2 separate regions of the Homo sapiens genome follow, and region 1 is linked to region 2. Evidence: promoter capture Hi-C in 16 types of primary human blood cells and fetal thymus (Javierre and others, 2016). All regions are on one chromosome and are shown on one strand. The core of a region is centred on a gene start or on the middle of the fragment in contact, and the rest is flanking DNA. Distances in the headings are between cores, read along the strand shown. Region 1 overlaps DENND5A (DENN domain containing 5A). Region 2 holds the start of NRIP3 (nuclear receptor interacting protein 3).

The links. The method cuts DNA at HindIII sites, captures the fragments that hold promoters and counts their contacts. A CHiCAGO score of 5 or more calls a contact.
Region 1: a contact is called between a fragment that was not itself captured here and the fragment with the promoter of NRIP3 in region 2, in 4 of 17 cell types (M1 macrophages, M0 macrophages, M2 macrophages and 1 more). The highest score is 6.8, in M1 macrophages.

Annotation. Positions count from the first base shown.
Region 1 is chr11:9,137,184-9,141,433 of GRCh38, forward strand. It overlaps DENND5A (DENN domain containing 5A), which reads right to left. Exons shown (of 23, transcript NM_015213.4): 23 at 1,642-2,671. The coding sequence ends at 2,488. Among named protein-coding and RNA genes, the nearest start is that of SCUBE2, 48 kb to the left of the region's middle. RefSeq lists enhancers at 836-1,025, 1,839-2,133. The HindIII fragment of the contact is 1,904 bases long and covers 1,744-3,647 here.
Region 2 is chr11:9,001,737-9,005,842 of GRCh38, forward strand. NRIP3 (nuclear receptor interacting protein 3) reads right to left here and starts at 2,265. Exons shown (of 7, transcript NM_020645.3): 1 at 2,026-2,265. The coding sequence starts at 2,199. It overlaps NRIP3-DT (NRIP3 divergent transcript), which reads left to right and starts at 2,352. Exons shown (of 3, transcript NR_183663.1): 1 at 2,352-2,807. RefSeq lists an enhancer at 1,442-2,361. The HindIII fragment of the contact is 8,665 bases long and covers 978-4,106 here.

The DNA of each region.
Region 1 (4,250 bases), core at 1,446-3,945, 140 kb after region 2:
GATGCACATCTGGGTGACAAAACAATAAAGAAACTCAACGAAATTATTACTTATAAAAGTTAAGATGGAAGAAGGGAGGTGCTGGGACTGTGATGGGGAAGGGGGAACATGGAGGACCCTGGGGGGCTGGCAAAGTTCTATTCTTGACCTGAGTGGTGATTATAAGGGTGCTTGCTTTATAGTAATTCCCTGAGTTCCTTTGCTTGCTTGTTTATTTACCAGTCCCTGAAATCACAGCCTGGGAAGCCCTGAAGTAGAGCAGGTGCAGAAGCTGAGGCAGGCAGGGCTGCTTGCTGAGTGAACCAAACACACCTGATTTACCCAGGACCACTGGAGAGGCCTGGCTGGGCCCTACACGGAAGAACGCAGTTGACTCAAATGTCCTTGAAATCTTGAGCTACTAAACAGGTCTGTTCTCTTATATCACACATCATTCCAAAACAGATTTGCAGAAGATTACAAAACAAAACACAGTAGAAAGTGAGTAGGATCAGCTGTTACAAAGAGCAAGGAAATAGTTGGTCCCAGCACCTGCCTTAAGGTAAGCTCAGGCCTAGGCCCACAATATAAACACATACAGCTGAGTTCCATGCTGCCCTTCTTGCCCAGCCAAGAATCCCACTTCCTGCTCCAGAGGTACTGCCTACCTTCCTTCCCCTTTCCTCGGCCTTCTCCGAGAGAACTAAAGCTCTGTCCGTGGGCTCCAGGCAGACGGCTGCAGTGTGGCCTCTCACCCCCTCTGCAGGCAGGACGCTGCGCTGCAGCTCTCTGGGCCCTCTCCTCATCTCTTCAGAAGCATTTACCACCTGCCAGGCCCAGGGGATGGAGACAGGCAAGAGATCCCCCTTTTCCCTCTGGGAGCTCACGGTGCAAGGGCTGAGCCTGACACGAAAGCAGGCAATGACAATCCAGAGAGGAGATGCCAGCATCTAAGAAAATGAAGGAGCACAAGGATGGAATGATTAACTGCCTAGGGAGATTGGGGACACTTCACAGCAGGTGACTGCTAAAGTAAACCCTGTACAACAAACACAAAGTGGGTGAAGGGGAGGCATTCCAGGCAAAGGGAAAATGCATGCAAACCAGGAAAGCATAAAAGAGGGCACTGATTGGTCTGAGGTGCCTGACTTGATCACGTTACACTTCTTCTGGAGCTTCCTGCCAAAGCAGCCTGAAGAATAAAAATGAACGAAGCTGGACCTCTCATAAAGGTCTCCCACCTGCCATCCCCAGGAAAGCAAACCTTTCTTTCAAGAGCTTCCCCCGACCCCCAGCTTCCCACACCTGGTCTCCCTTACCCTCTCAAGAAAGGGCCCATCCTGTCTCAGTCAAGTGACAACCTCTGCACCCCTGGCCGGGTCTTTTCCCTCCTGTGTCTCAGTCTCCTCCTCTGTGGAGTGGGGAAAGAACCCTGTCTGCATCCATGTGAATCAGCCACATAACAGCTAGGAAGGCTCCTAGCACTGCGGGCAGAAGGACCCAGGAGACCCCAGGCCCTCAGGGGCATCCTGGGCAGGCCACAACCCCGAGCCTGCTGGTAAAGAGAGGTGATGCCACAAGACCATCCTCACAGATGGACCCAACTGCACCCGCAGCCACCCACTGCTCATAAACCTCCATAAAAATCAGTGATCCATGCAGTTTTTGTTTCAGGTGTTTTATTAAGTGGGCCATACTGTAGCTGGTTTCTAAGTTGCAAAACATAAATTTAATAATAATAACATAGCCAGTTAGATTGTGACAAGCTTTTCCTTTCCTTAAAAAAAGAAAATACTTAAAAACACACAATGGCGGGTTAAATAAATAAAACATTTTAAAAAAGAAAAAAGAAAAGAAAAACCTGTTAAAACATGCTTATGTTTACTTCTGTGAAACTGTGCCAACAGGAAATGTGGTATTTGGCACGATGACACATCCCGGCATGTCTCCTTCCCAAACAATACTGACAAAAAAGAAAATACGTGGGACTGACTCATCGGTGCTTGCTTAGAGGCACTACTAAAAATCCCTTTGATTGGAGCATGGGGCTTCCCGCGCAGCACACCTGTGTGTGGCCTATGAAAGCCAAATATCCATAATAATGTTAATATAGAAAAACATTAGTTTAAAAATGATGTGGAAGGGCCTCATTAATGCGACGGGGCAAGGAAACATAACTGTCCCGCACGCAGTGCCACAGGCTCAGTCCAGGGAGGCCTCAGGCTTCCAGCATGTGGCCACGGCGAGGGAGGGCACCAGCTTCAAAATAAGCGGCACCAGCCTCGCTCCCTCTCCCTATCACTCTTTCACATGAAAGTGTGTAAAAAGCAAATCAGCAAATAAACTCTAAAATAGATTATTTATTCCAAAAATCCTCTAGTTTTCTTTTTACAGTGAGTGTACATTTTGTCTCCTACTCCTGCACAATCGCTTAAGTCCCTTTGGGAAAAAAGGTCAGAGCTGCAGGGTGAGTCTTTCTCAGTCCTGCTGCTGGCTGGTGCTGGGAGGTCAGATGTCGATGCCCTTGACAAGGGACGTCTCCAGCGTGATGTTGAACTCCTGCAATGTCTGCAGCACACGAATCAAGGAATTGACAAGTGTATGGTCTTTGATCAGTGCCACATCCTCATACATGTGTGCAGTGATGGGGCAGTCAGCCAGCAGGGCAATCCAGTGGTGTAGGAGGTGATCTCTGGCAGAGCGGGAGCAGTCCAGGCAGGTCAGAGGGGCAAAGGAAAAGGAAGAGAGAGCGTTAGTGCAAGGCCAAGGGGGAAACCATGAACTAAGTCTGAAGCTGGAGAAGCTGACAGCCCCCCACACCCCCCTTTCCCAAACAGGGACTGGCAAAGAGGTCTTTCAGCTCCAGGACACCAAACAAACCTGACCCAAATCAGCCCTGTCATGAGCCTCCAAGCCTCCTCCTCCCCTGCCTCCCTCGCCCTGCCTAGTCAGCCCCACCACTGGTGTCTCCCAGAGCTTCTCTCCTCCCACAGCTACCACCACCAGGAATAATAATAAGCACTAACCTCACATAACACTCAGCATGTGCTGGCACTGACATAAGAGATTTAATCTTCATGATAACCCTGTGATATGAGGTAGGTACTATTATTATCCCCACTTTATAGATGAAGAAAGTAGGGTAGATGGAAGTTAAGTAGCTTGTCCAAGATCACATGGCTAGTAAATGGATAACTTGAGATCTGAACCTAGTGAATGCGGTTCTGGAGTCTGTTTTTAACCACTATGCCAATTCTCTCCCTTTATGCAGCCTGAATAAACTGCCTTAAGTTTATTTGAGCTTCATGCTCTCTCACCTGACCTACAGGAATAGCCCCTAATAATCATGTCCACTCTAATGCATACCACCCATAATATCAGATTAATATTACTTCAGTCCCCTGATGAAACAACTTTGTACTAATATGAAAAGAATCTTTCTCTGTCCCAGCTCAGGGGCCCTACCCTCCTTTCAACTGTGTTTCCTATTACTGCCCTTGCCACGTTCTGTTATTTCCTTCCATTAAAGGCTCACTTAAATACCAACTCCTCCCTGAAGTCTTCTCTGATCTTTCTCCTCTACCTTTTCAGCATATTGTATGAATGTACACTTCATTTTTGGACCCTCAAAACCTTCTTCCATGCTCTGTATTTAATTAGGACAAGTAAGCTTCTAAATGTTGGCCAGGCATGGTGGCTCACGCCTGTAATTTCAGCACTTTGGGAGGCCAAGGAAGGCAGATCACCTGAGGTCAGGAGTTCAAGACCAGCCTGACCAACATGGAGAAACCCCGTCTCTACTAACAATACAAAACTAGCCAGGCGTGATGGCGCATGCCTGTAATCCCAGCTACTCGGGAGGCTGAGGCAGGAGACTCACTTGAACCCAGGAGGCGGAGGTTGTGGTGAGCCGAGATCACACCATTGCACTCCAGCCTGGGCAACAAGAGCGAAACTCCATCTCAAAATAAATAAATAAATAAATAAATAAATGGTAAGGGGCCACGTTTTATTCAGCTGTCTTCCTACCAACTTCCATAAGGCCATTTAAATGTCTAATGAAGGAATAACTAGATATACTCTGCTTCAAACTTCCCCAGTGGTGTGATTTTGATCTTTCCTTTCAAAATGGGGCCCCTCTGCCCCGAGTTACATACACGTTGTCATCCCTACCCCGACAGATCACCACACACATAAGTCACGTGTTGCTTAATGACAGGGATACAGTCTGAGAAATGTGTCATTAGACAGTTTCGTCACCATGCGAACTT
Region 2 (4,106 bases), core at 1,015-3,514:
TGCTGCCTCACCCCAGCGCTTGCGGCTCTCCTAGCCCTACCTCGGTCTGCCTTGGTTTCTGTAACCTGGCTGTTCTGTGCAATCACTTGTACATTATAGGTGTGAAAACAGTGAGAGAGGGAAATCAACTCCATGACGGTGGGGCACAGAAAGCGTGAACCATGATTCAGAGCCTTACAGTCAACTGTCATGTGTATGTGTCATACTCAAGGCAATATCCTGCTTCTTGAGGCTCCTTCCTCTTTGCAGCCTGCTGCCTGTGCTGTATGCTATCAGCCCTTTGTGACTCAACTGAGACAGACTAGAGTCAGAAAAGCGGATGGAATTCTTACACAGCATGAAGTAGTATAAGAAATCCTAGGCAGAAGGAAGTTCAGGTAGCTCTCAGGGCTAGGAAACTCCTCGACAACGAGGGACAACCAAATCCAGCATTTAAAAACTCTGTATTTTAATTCTTCTCTTAATATAATACTTCCTTCTTTATTGATTGCTGAGCATTCTAGGAACTAGGATAGGATTATTTGGCCTGAAGGAAAGAATACTTCTCGAACCTGATTTGTTAAATGAATCGAGATTGCTTTAAAGTGAAAGAAGGGAAAAGAGAGTTATCTCTTTTGCAGGAGCACATTTCAATCACTTATCACTCTGGGTTAGCATAAATCAGATAAACTATCCTGTGGGTTGTGCAAAAAGCAAAACAAAACAAAAAAACACAACTTGTAAAAAAAACAGAGCAAGATAACTGAAGTAGACAAACTCTGCACAGAAGTAACTAATGGCAGGGAGGAGAAAAATTTTTGTATATTATATTATACTGTGTATAATATAATGTACCTGTGTATCATTAGAGCTGTTAAATTAAAAAAAAAAAAAAAAAAAAAAGGAAATGGATGCAGAAGCTCTGCCCTCCTGGGGCCAGAAATGGCAATTTCAGTGAACTAGGGCCGACAACCACATCCAAAATTAAATATTTCAAAAGCTTAAAATAAAAAATACTAGAAAAATTATGCAGAGCACCTATTTCATTTGTTAAAAGACATTTAATTAGTGTTTCACATATTACCACCCAAATGAATAAAGCGATTGTGAAATTCAAGAAAACAATCAAACTACAAGAAAACTCCAGATAAAACTACAAAGTTAAACATAAACTTGGCCCAGGACCACTACAGTGGCTGAGGGATGACAAATACAGTTCTTTATATTGGTAACCCTTAGCCATCCATCCCATTCTATAGAAAGAGGACAGTACCATCTTTGACCCCAGGCCCCCTGTCCTGAGGTGCTTCTACTTAATGCCAGGAACAACTGTGCTAGAAAAAAAGACTGCACCCACCCCAGCTCCAGATGCACACATTAGCTGGTCGGTGAGATGCAGCAGCCTGGCTTCCTCCCTCTACCCACTCCTTGGGGGCGGGGCTGGAAGAGGAGAATGATGAAGAGATGTTGGGGGTTCAGGAAACCTTCACATTTGGCCCCTTTTCTCTCTCCCCACTCAGGATGGAAGGTCAAAGTTAGGACCAAAACTAGAGAAGTGGGTTTTGCATAGGGGGACAATGGATTCAACAGAAGTCCTCTGGATCTGGCAACTGTCAAAAAACCCTCTTTCCACTTCTTTCCCCCTCACGGAAAGCCATTAGGAATCACCTCTGTCTGGGTCATAGGAACAGCCACACAGCATAGGAGGCACAAGCCCCGTGAACAAAATTCGGTATTAAGAATAAGGAAAAAGAAAGAAGACCCGAGGGCAAGAGGGCAGGGCAGGACCTCTTCTTTCTACTGGAGAAGAGACATCCAGGGAGGAGGCACAGCCGAGGGGAGCGCAAGCTAGAAAAGCTACGACGGAATCCCCACCGAAACCGCAGCAGGGGTACTGGAAGGGGAGGAATCCGCGACGCAGCGACCGCGAGCCAAGGGCAGCGGCGGGCCGGGCCGTGACTCAGTGAAAGCCGCAACGGCCGGGCCTCGGAAAACGGCGGGCGCGAAGCCGCCGGGGCCGGGGCGAGAACGGCGGCGGGGGCTCACCATGTCCTTGGACGAGCCCAGCTTCTTGAGGCCGTCCAGGGGCAGCAGGTCGGCGGAGTCCTTGTGGATGAACTGCACCGCCTGCTTCATCCGGCGCTGCTGTCGCAGTGACGCCGCCTCCCGCATGTCGGTCTCCTTGCGGCCGCCCTCAGTGAGGAGCCCTGAGTAAAACATCGCTGAGGCGCCGGCGGCCCGGTAGCCCACAGCCCCCCGGCAGCCTCAGCCTCGAGCTCCTCCAGCGCCGCAAGGGCCCCGAGCCGCGCCTTTTATAGCCGAGCGTGACGTCGCGGGGAGCAGCCAGTGCGCGCGCGGGGGGCGGGGCCGGCACAGAGTCCACGCCCCGCGCGGCTCCCTCGCGTCCCGCGTCCCGCGTCCCGCGTCCCCTGCTCACCCGGTGGCAAAGCCGGCGAGGAGGCGGCGGCGCTGGTGGGGACTGACCCGGCAGTCCGAGAATCCACCGCGGCCTTTTCACCCAACCGCCCCCTCCTGCGTGGGGGCCCCGCATCCCCTGGACTGGCGTGGGCTCTGGGGCCCGATGCCCTGGCAGCCCCGGCCATCTCTGCCGCTGGCCGCGGGTACCTGCTCACCTGTCCACGCCGTGGCCGACCCGGGGATCACCGACAGCCGGGCCATGCCTCGAGTCCCGCCGCCCGCGCCGCTGCTCGGCTTCTCAGAAACGCACCTCCACGCCGCCAGCCGGGGCTCCAGGGTCCACCGCCCGGGCCCGGAGGACTGGCGACTCCCTCCGAGGTTGGGAGCGCTCCGGATTTCTCCAACTTCAGGTCGGTCCCCACCCACCGGGCCACGTGACTGGGGAGGGGGCAGCCGGTGCAGGCGTGTGGAGGAGGCTTTCGGGACCTCCTCCCCCGGGCACCCTCTGCCTGCAGCCCGGCACCCGGCCCGCGTTTCCGAGCCGGGGGAGCAGGTGCAGTCGGAAGCCCGCGGGTGGGCGTGGGGCGGGGGAGTGGCGAGGGTCCCCCGCCTCCGCGGGAGCGCACGCGGCTGCGAGCCCTACACCTGCTCTCCGACCAAAGAAGCACCTGTTTTTCTCAATAAGTGCTAGGGCTTACCATCTAAAGGATCGTTCACCATCCCTCCAGCGTCCTTAGTAGGAGCGATTGGAACCCGTTTTTCTTCCTGAATAATCCATACTTTTAAGCCATTCTAATCGGGCCTTCAGGCATCCTGGATTCTGGTCTCGACATTGTGATTTGACACAAATCACGTTTTCACTCTGGAAACCACAACTACTCCCTCCACCCCATCACGCAGGAGCAGACCTGGATAAGAAATATGTGCACTCTGCAAAGAACCAATGATAAAAGTAACAATATCGACGCTTACTGAGCCTTTACTATGTGCCAGGTACTAGACTAGACACTTAAAATGCAGTATCTCATTGGATCCTGGCAACAGCTTGTAAGATAGTATTCTCATCACCCCCATTTTACAGGCAAATACCTGATACCTTCTGTCTGGCCTCCTGAATGCTCCTTGGTTCCATTCCAATACGTTGTTCACTGTGCTGCCAGAGTAATCTTCTCAAACGATAAGTGTGATCATCTCACTTCCCTGCTAAGAGCACCTCAAAAGGCTTCCTATTGCTCTTAGGAGAAACCCACATTCTTGCATGGTCTGCCTAGACCCTGCATATTCACTCTGTACTTCAGCCTCATGGGCCTTCTTCCAGTTCCTTCCAGTCACCTGTTGCCAAATGGCCTGCCTTTGACTGTCCTGTTCCCTCTGTGTGCAGTGCCCCCTCCTACCCTCTTCAGGAAACTCCTATGCTTCTTCCAGACCTCAGCTCCATTATCATTTCTTTAGGAAAGCCTTCTCTGACCTTCCAGAGAGAGTGAAGTCTCTCTAATTATATACTATCTATCTCTTGGGCATTTGACACTTTCTGTGGGGGTAGGGGTAGGGGGGTACTGGTTGTTGGATTAATATTTGTCTCCTCCACTGATTGGAACCTCCAGGAAGGTGACTGAACCCATTTTTTGCTTAGCATTGATGCCCTAATATGCAGAGGGTTCTCAAATACTAGTGAAAGGATGGCAAAAAGTTAAGGTCGTACCAAAGAA